Linked DNA regions of Homo sapiens: region 2 is linked to region 1. Evidence: promoter capture Hi-C in 16 types of primary human blood cells and fetal thymus (Javierre and others, 2016). All regions are on one chromosome and are shown on one strand. Each heading gives the region's core, a stretch centred on a gene start or on the middle of the fragment in contact. The rest is flanking DNA. Distances are from core to core; before and after follow the strand shown. Region 1 holds the start of ECT2 (epithelial cell transforming 2). Region 2 overlaps TBL1XR1 (TBL1X/Y related 1).

What was found. The method cuts DNA at HindIII sites, captures the fragments that hold promoters and counts their contacts. A CHiCAGO score of 5 or more calls a contact.
Region 2: a fragment that was not itself captured here is called in contact with the fragment with the promoter of ECT2 in region 1 in 1 of 17 cell types (fetal thymus); the score reaches 5.4 in fetal thymus.

Annotation. Positions count from the first base shown.
Region 1 is chr3:172,747,621-172,752,930 of GRCh38, reverse strand. It overlaps ECT2 (epithelial cell transforming 2), which reads right to left and starts at 2,205. Exons shown (of 25, transcript NM_001258315.2): 1 at 2,074-2,205. RefSeq lists a silencer at 1,790-1,859 and enhancers at 1,970-2,229, 2,250-2,299, 2,400-2,669. The HindIII fragment of the contact is 5,304 bases long and covers 1-2,551 here.
Region 2 is chr3:177,047,684-177,051,530 of GRCh38, reverse strand. It overlaps TBL1XR1 (TBL1X/Y related 1), which reads left to right. Exons shown (of 16, transcript NM_024665.7): 5 at 1-27; 6 at 921-1,053; 7 at 1,393-1,534. It overlaps TBL1XR1-AS1 (TBL1XR1 antisense RNA 1), which reads right to left. Exons shown (of 4, transcript NR_174966.1): 4 at 3,608-3,847. Among named protein-coding and RNA genes, the nearest start is that of TBL1XR1-AS1, 12 kb to the right of the region's middle. The HindIII fragment of the contact is 3,036 bases long and covers 1-2,944 here.

The sequences.
Region 1 (5,310 bases), core at 956-3,455:
TTAGCAAAGTAACAGTTTAAACTGTATGCTGTTATGTGACACTTCAAAATCAGGCAACTCAGCTTCCTGTCTCAGCCCTGCACATAGTCAGTTAAACCTCAGTTTCCACATTGGTGGAACACACATAGTACTACAACTCAAATCTAGTTAAGATGAAAACTGAATAGATGTCTTAAAGTGAACAACAAACAACTATTCTCATGTAATATTCACAATATGGATATTTCTTATGGCTTTACCATACATCCATGTCAATCATTATTCTAAGGCTCTCCAAAGGAGCGGTCCAATAGTTGTAACAGCCTTAATTTAGAATCAATGATAAATTCTATCCAGCCCTATTATTTTAAGTCTTCTACACTCAACCATTTCCAATGAAAAGGCATTAAAGTGGCTTTCATTCAAAGTCCCCTTAAAAGAATGTTTAAAAAAAAAAAAAAGTCAGGAGATGAGCTAACCTGCTTTAAGGACTGGAAGAGGAAAATCAAAAATACCATTTGAAAGGCCGGACGCGGTGGCTCACACTTGTAATCCTAGCACTTTGGGAGGCCAAGGCGGGCGGATCACGAGGTCAGGAGTTCGAGACCAGCCTGGCCAACACAATGAAACCCCGTCTCTACTAAAAATACAAAAATTAGCTGGGCTTGGTGGCAGGCACCTGTAATCCCAGCTACTCAGGAGGCTGAGGCAGGAGAATCGCTTGAACCCGGGAGGCAGAGGTTGCAGTGAGCCGAGATCGTGCCACTGCACTCCAGTCTAGGTAACAAGAGGTAGACTCCGTCTAAAAAAAAAAAAAAAACTTCTTGAAAATATTTACATTTTTCTCCTATGCCTCCCTCTTTAAGAGGGAGCACAGCAAATGATCAAAAGCAGATGATTAATAAAAGGGAGGGAGCATAGCAGATGATCGAAAGCAGATGATTAATAATTAAAATTGCCCCTGATGATACTGTATATGATCAATTTATTGCCAAAACAGCTTCAAAATGTATAGAGAAAAAGAGATGCACTACGGTAACTTGATGACATAACTAACATCCAACAGTCAGATTAGAAATGGAAATATATTAATCACTTTTTTTCAAATTACTGTATTCCAGAAGCCTTTAAAATAAGCACAATAGGATCAGTGTTCATAAACCTACACAGCTTCTCACCCAAGAACAGACCCAAGGAGCTTCTAACTAAACACACTATAACACATGCCCCCTTTTATCCCAGAGATAAAATTTGCCATGTAAACAAACATTCAAGTTTCCTTTTACTTAAATACTTTTTAGGCAATCATCTTCCAAGGTGAAGGACTAAAATGCAATCCAAGATATAATGGTGGTGTTATTAACAATAACATTACTATTAACAACTGACATTTACTTAACGCTTAATACGTGGCAGACATTGTCCTAAACCTTTTAATCTCTGCAGTAATCCTAAGAGGCAGGTACTATTATTATTTTCAATGTATGGATGAAGAAACGTAGGAACAGAGAGGTTAAGCAACTTCCCCTAAGTCAAACTGTTAGTAAGGGGTAAAAGAGGTATTCAAAGCCCGGCTAAATCCAGAGGCTGCGCCTTTAACCACTAAGCCGGACACATCTGTGCCGGGTGGCTGGGGAGGACGAGGGGCGGATGGCCTGGATTTATCTTGCAAAAACGAAAAATTAAACTTCCCGCAAAGAAGCCAGGATGAATCCTAGAATAAAACCACGGCGCACTCTGAGATAAGCCCCCAAAGGCTGCAAGTGCCGGCCCCCAAAGCCACAGGGCTGCGCGGCTTGCCAAAATCCCTTTCCCAACTCCCTCCCTTCACCCACACTCTTCTGTCCAAAAGAGCCAACAGGTGAGGGCGAAGATGCCCAGCAATACTGGGGGCTTCGGTCTCCCACTCCGCGTCAGGGCCCGGCTGCTGGGGGTGGGGTGCGGCGAGGGAGTTCCCGGATCCGGGAAGCCTGAGCTGGGGCGCTCCGGAATTCGCGGTCACTAGGGGCGGGGACGTCGACCGCAGGCAAAAGAGCCCTTGGCTCTGGAGCCGCTCGCCCACTTGCACCTCTCTCACTCACACAGAGTCCTTACCACTCTCAAAAAAGCCCTAGGAGTTCCACCTCTTCAAACGCCGACTCCTCTCACAAATACCGCCATTCCTCGCCGGCGGCCGCCACAACCGATTCAAAAACTAAGCTGCTCTCTCTAAGAGCCATGCCGATTGGCGCGTGATGTCAACCTCTTTCCCATAGGCAGGAGTCTCCAGAGGGGCGGTGATTGGTCGACGCTCTCCAAGTCCCGGCAGGCGCCGCTTGATTGGTTGTGCGTGTGTTTCAAATAAGCCCAACGACTCGGGCGTCGGGACGCCAGGAGTTTGCAGAGAAGTGCCCGGATGTGGCCAGGAGGTGGCGGTGGTGGCTCCTGAGGTCTTAAAGGAGTAGCAGGTGTTTCTGTGACTACCGCATATTTACTCAGTAAACATCCTACTTCCTGAGGAAAGTTTGGGTGGATTCTCCTCGGCCCCACCCAGCTTTTTTTTTTTTTTAAACGATACCAAATCTTTTAAGCTTAAATCAGTGCCGCCAGAGATAAATGTTTCCCTGCTGCTTGCTGTGAGCTGTAGGATTTTCCTATCGGGATGCTTTCTGCTTTAGGAATGTATTTAAATTTGAGTTAAGGGATTTTGACTTTGATGGTTGTATTGGCGTGTGGCAGGGCCAAGGACCGGTCCTAGAACTCGGACTCCCCAGGTGGACTTCAAATCAGCAGCCGCTTATTTAAATGCTATTATTTAAAGCACTGCGCTCCCATCTAGGGAGTATCGCGGGTTAGAATCAATTCTTAGAAATTAGAAAAATTCTCGGATTTTTTTAAAGATAAGCTTGAATTTGATAAAAATATGCCACGAGATTCTAGAATTTTTGGAGCCAAATTGCTTCGTCTTTGCCCCCCTCCGCCCACTAAGAACTTGTACTTTCCCCTAAAGTCTAGTCAAGAATGTATCAAGTTTTTCCTGTGATTAGCGTTGCTATTATGAAAATAATTTCTTTATTTTCTAAATATGATACCATATAACACAATCTCTTAAGAAAAATACACCCCCACCAGGTGGGTTTTCCATAGTTCCCACCTGAAGGCTAATATAAATAGAAGAAGAAAGGGGAATCAGATGCCAGAACCTAAATACCAATAAGAAGAGGCAAACGTGTACTTTGGGATGGAACACTTGTGAGCATCTCAAGCAGGTTGTGGGGACTTAACAATTTTTTCTAATTTTGTCAGGCAATCTTAGAATGCCTGAAAAGTTTATAATGCTGTCCACAAAATGAATGAAGCAATCTGGTAATTATTGGTTTCCCTGCTTGTCAGTATTTAAGTCTGACCTTCATTAAAATGCTGTGATAACTGTTACGGCAGAAAAAAAGAAAAACAGTAATTGAAATTTCCATTTGGAATGTGCTTGCGTATTTGGAAGTCGGGTGTGCCCAGCATTCCAAAAACGTTCATCACTGAAAACATATTAAGCTATTGTGGGAAGCAGCCCTACTTCCTTTGTGCACCGCTTTCTGCTCAACAGACTTTCCAAAGCTAATGATTAACTGTGTATGGTATCATTGCCATGAATTTTAAGCTTCCCTAACAAAAGCTGTACTTGATTTCTTTTAAGGGATGTGTGGCAGTTAGATTAACAAATAAACGGGTAATACAACCTTTTTCACTCTCTTAGGTCTTCATTTACTCAGCAAATATTTACTAATTTTAAGACAGCCATTGTGCTTGTTGGGGTTATAAAGATGAATAAGGCATAGAAAACTGCCTGTCTGGACCACACAATCTGGTGAGGGAAATTAGCAGATAAACAGATAATTACAGTATAAGGGAGAGAAGAAAGAGAATGAACATACTGATACTTTACTATGCACTTTATACCTTATTTAATCCTTAAAACAACCCACAAGTAGGTATCATAGTCCCATGATACCATGAAACTGTAGGAAAGGTTTAAGTAACTTACCCAGTGTCTCCTAATAAATATTTTAGCCCGCATTAGAACCCAGAAATAATAGATGAGTGTAAATAAAGTCTAGTATAGATCTGTCTGCAGGCTCAAAGAAAGCAATGTGGAGAGGAGTATTTCAGATAATCGTGTGCATAGGTGATCATATGCCACTTAATTGCACCTAGCAGAGGGCTGGTGTCTGGTAAAGTAAAACATGATCCCTCATCTTCAGGTATTTTCAAAAAGCTAGTACTGCAAAGGCAAATGTTACACATTGCTCTCTAATAAACACAGGAATCTTCACATGTAGGTACCAAATAAATATTTCGAGAGTGAATGAGCTAGATCCAAGTTCATTCATAATGTTTGAGAGACTGGATGTCCTGATTAACCTAATCATAGTTTATTCATTTAATAACTATTAAGCACCCATTAGGTACTATGCTAGCACTGAGAATATAGGTGTGACAAGACAAATATGGGCCTTGTTCTCATGGCACTTCTAGCAGATAGCTGTATTTGCGGTGAAAAATTTATTGCATGCATAGGTTTTCACAGAATTCAAATACCTACAAAACAATGATACAAGTAACTTAGTCTTACTGAGTCAGAAGCTGTTTCAAGTGCTATAGTGTTTCAAGATCAGCATTATGAAAAATTTTTAAATACTATATACGGCATAGGCAATTGAACTGAATGGCATATTAACCTTGAACTTTTTTAAAAACATAAATTCTTAATATTAGCTTGTTTACGTGCACTTTAGGCTCTCATAAAAGCTCAATATATATAGGAGACAGTAAACAGTTTGGTGTGGCTGGATCATAATATACATGAAGAGGACAGTGGAAGACAACTGACATACGCTAGGTTAGGCTAGGTGTGGGGGCTCATGCCTATAATTCCAGCACTTTGGGAGACTAAGGCAGGAGGATCCCTTGAAGCCGGGAGTTCAAGACCAGCCTAGGTAGTGACTGCACTCCATCCTGGGCGATAGAGCAAGACCGCCCCTCCCCCCCACCATCCAGCCCCCATCTCAAAAAAAAATAAATGCTGGCCAGGTGCAGTGGCTCATGCCTGTAATCCCAGGCATGAGATTACATGCCTTTGGAAGGCCCAGGCGGGCGGATCACGAGGTCAGGAGATCGAGACCATCCTGGCTAACATGGTGAAATCCTGTCTCTACTAAAAATACAAAAAAATTAGCCGGGCGTGGTGGCACGCGCCTGTAGTCCCAGCTACTCGGGAGGCCGAGGCAGGAGAATGGCGTGAACCCGGGAGGCGGAGCTTGCAGTGAGCAGAGATTGCGCCACTGCACTCCAGCTTGG
Region 2 (3,847 bases), core at 177-2,676, 4.3 Mb before region 1:
AGGAGAATGGAGCACATACTATAGCAAGTGAGCTCAGACAAGAATTTTTTTTTAATTACATGGTTTATTTATTTATTTTTTTAAACTTTTAATTCGGGGTACATGTGCAGGTTTGTTATATAGATGAACTCATATCACAGGGGTTTGTTGTACAGACTATTTCATCACCCAGGTACTAAGCCTAGTGCCCAATAGTTATTTTTTCTGATCCTCCTCTTCCTCCCACCCTCCACCCCCCAGGAAGGTCCCAGGAGACAAGAATTTTTAAAAATTTTTTCTCAGAAGAAATGCCCCATCTTCTATGCTGAAATAATTTCATCTGTTAACTTGCACCAACTTGTTTCCCTAACTTGTATCACACAGTTCAATTCAGATTTTTATTCCTAAAGCTCCAAAAAGCTAGATTTACTTTTATTTTCTTTTTAAAATATCTAGAAACCCTTTTCCCATTGTTAAATGAATTTTTACATCTACATTTGATTTCTAAATAAAATTTGTAATACTAGTTATCAACAAATAACCATAGAGCTCTGACATCGAGATAAAAGGCAACTCATGTTATATGAATGATATCAGCAACCCCTACTGGCAGAAACTCAGAATAGTACTGATAGACATTATATTTAATTCAAACCATTTTATCGTTTTATCCATGTTTAGGTCTAATCATTTAAAGTCTCCCATCCCACTCCCACCCCCACCCCTCTAAAAAAAAAGTATGTGGTCAATACTTAATTAAAGATAAGAATTTATTTTCTGTGTGACTAAGACTGTGTAGTCATGTTCAGCTTAACTGGATATAATTGAAAAATGTTACACTGTGTGCGATAAAGGAAGGTATTTGCTAGTTAAGAAATCACCCATCCACCATGTTGTAATACTGCCTAACTGGAAATGCTTACTTGTGTTTCACGATGCAGATAATCATACTGATATGATGGAAGTGGATGGGGATGTTGAAATCCCTCCTAATAAAGCTGTTGTGTTGCGGGGCCATGAATCTGAAGTTTTTATCTGTGCCTGGAACCCTGTTAGTGATCTCCTAGCATCAGGGTATGTTTCTCAAAGTGATACTAAAATGACTTAAAAATATCTTATTGAACATTTTATAAACATATGCATTATTCAGGTTTTCTGTTGTTGCTTAGTTGTGGCCATTTTGTCTCTGTAAATTTTTTATTCCTTCATGAAGTAATTGTAGAATTTTTAATTAAACTTACTATTTCGAGAATGCTTGGGGGTCCCAACGTGTAGAATGGGAAAAATACTGGAAATGAAAATTCGTGATAGTCGTTTTTATTTGCCTTATTAATATTCAGATGTAAATATGTTGCCTTGTTCTGATACGTGAGAATGTCATGAGGATCTAAAATATATTGCATACTTTTATAGGTCTGGAGACTCAACAGCAAGAATATGGAATCTTAGTGAGAACAGCACCAGTGGCTCTACACAGTTAGTACTTAGACATTGTATACGAGAAGGAGGGCAAGATGTTCCAAGCAACAAGGATGTCACATCTCTAGATTGGAATGTGAGTATCACTATATCCATGATGGATATAATTACTAGTATACCTAACCCTCAGAGCCTCATACTCACGGCAGGGTTTGTCTATTTGTTCAGAATTTGGGGTTTTATTAACTAGTAACAACAAACCGGGAGTCGTCCCCTGCCAGCCCTCTCCCCCACTGTGGGACACAGACTTGCCTTAGTCAGACCAAGGTTCAACATCCAGCTCTTCAGTGTATCCCACAGCATATCCTTGGTTAAATTGTTACTTTTTACTCTGTACTTCATTTTCTTTAAATGTCAAGTAGAAGTGTGAAAATGGTACCTAAATATTTGAGATAATAGGTGAAAATTCTTACCATAATAACAAACAACATACTAAATCTATAACAACCGAGTCCTTAGGGGATAAAAGAATTCTGTGTAGCAAAAAACATGTTCTTGTTTTTCTCTGTATTCTGTGAACTGGTAGAACTTTATTACCAATTTCCTTTTAGGGATCATTAGTCTAGACAACGTCTGAATTTTATTCCCACTGTAGGAATCTTGTAATTCTCTGATTCTGTGTATGATTCAACATCTTTCAGGACAACTTGACTACTGTGACTTACAAAAAACTTTGACTTCGTTGTTGATAAATTCTCACCATTATAGTTTTAAATACATCTCTTACCTCGCTCCGCTACCCCCTGCCCCTCCCCCAAAACTCTTAGATTATTTCAGCATTGCAAAGAATATCAAGATAGTTGTTCTTTGCTCAGCAAATGAATGTTCTTTTCTCTTCTGTTTAACAACCCTTTGTGGACTTTCTAAAGGATCTTCCAATTCTTTTCCCCGGGAATGAGATCTATCTTTAAAATGATTATCCCCACTAAAGTTCTCAGTTTCTGTGAAATGTTTTTTCAGAAATCATAGCTAGGTATTTTTAGCATTTTCTTCCAAAATTGCCAGCAGCATATTTACTCTTCCCCTCCATATGACAATTCTAAAAATTCCAAAGGGGTTTAGCACATTGTAGTATTATTTACTTGTAAGATCAAGACAGAATTATTTTCTTAATATGGGCCCTTATTATATTTTAGTTCAGATATCTTACAGCTTTCTTACGCTACCTGGTCCACTGGCCATGTTAATGAAATTTATAGTTTACACTGAAAAGGATGGTTAATGAATATTGGTTTGTTGAGCTTGGTAGTTCTGAACTGCATTTTATAGTTTTGAAAAGTGTGGGCTTTTAAAAAATGTGTTATTCACGGTGAACTTGGAAAACATTATCCTCGATTAATGATTCTTTTCCATGGCTAAAGCAAGAGAGCCTGTGAGATTTCTCATCTTTACAGTATTTTCCTAGTTGAGCAGTTCATGAACTAAAACATTTAGGGACTGATAGTTTAGAGGAAACTTGACATTGTGTAGGATGTGGAAATAAGCTTTTACTGTTGACTTCAACATGGCTCCCCTTCTTCTTGAGACAGAGCCCTAAGGGATGGCCACATCCCAGCAGAATTGAGTCTGCAGTTCCCAGAACCAGCATTTGTTTTTGTTTGTCACTTAGCCATACTGCTAAATGGCTTGAGAGATGTGAAATAGGTGATCTTGTTTTGAATGCCCTTACCAAAAACCATCAATAATATGTCAAGTAATGCAGGATTTCATTCTCCAGTAATGTTTACTGATTCTAGCAATAGTCTGTTTACTATAATCTGTAACTTCTGTGTTTGCATAGAGTAGGTTAGATCTGTCCTTTTATTACACAATTCATCGAGGCAAGGTGCACAGCAAGGGAATATAAGTTGAGAGAAATTTATATGGACTTTTCCTCCTGGTAAAGTAGGCAGTTGTACTTACTTCATTAACTATAAAGTCAGCCTGTGCTCTTTTCTGGCTCTTTTCCTTGTTGATCTTTTTATTGGCAAATATTTCATAGTGGGAAGGGATTAATAATAGAAAGGAACATTCAAGTATTTAAGAATCTGATCATTCGAAACAATGATATTGTTTGGATCATACCCACACACTTCGTTTTAGACAGTAAAGGATTTAGAGGAATGGCCATATAAAACCTTCTAATCATATTTTAAAGTTTTTCTTTTTTACTTCTAATAAATCATTGTAAGACTATGAATTTGATGTTCTTCCCAGTCCACCACTCTACCTTCATTCTTAGTTGTGTGAGTCTGTGAGAATACTTTTGGCATGCATGAGGTGGGGTGATGTAGATCCTGGTCCAGAGCAATCACTGTCAGTTGTTGAACTTTGGATATAAGGCCCCCATACAACATTAGTGTCACACAGTGGAAGGGTTTCATAGGCCTTTAGTGGCACTCACAAGTAG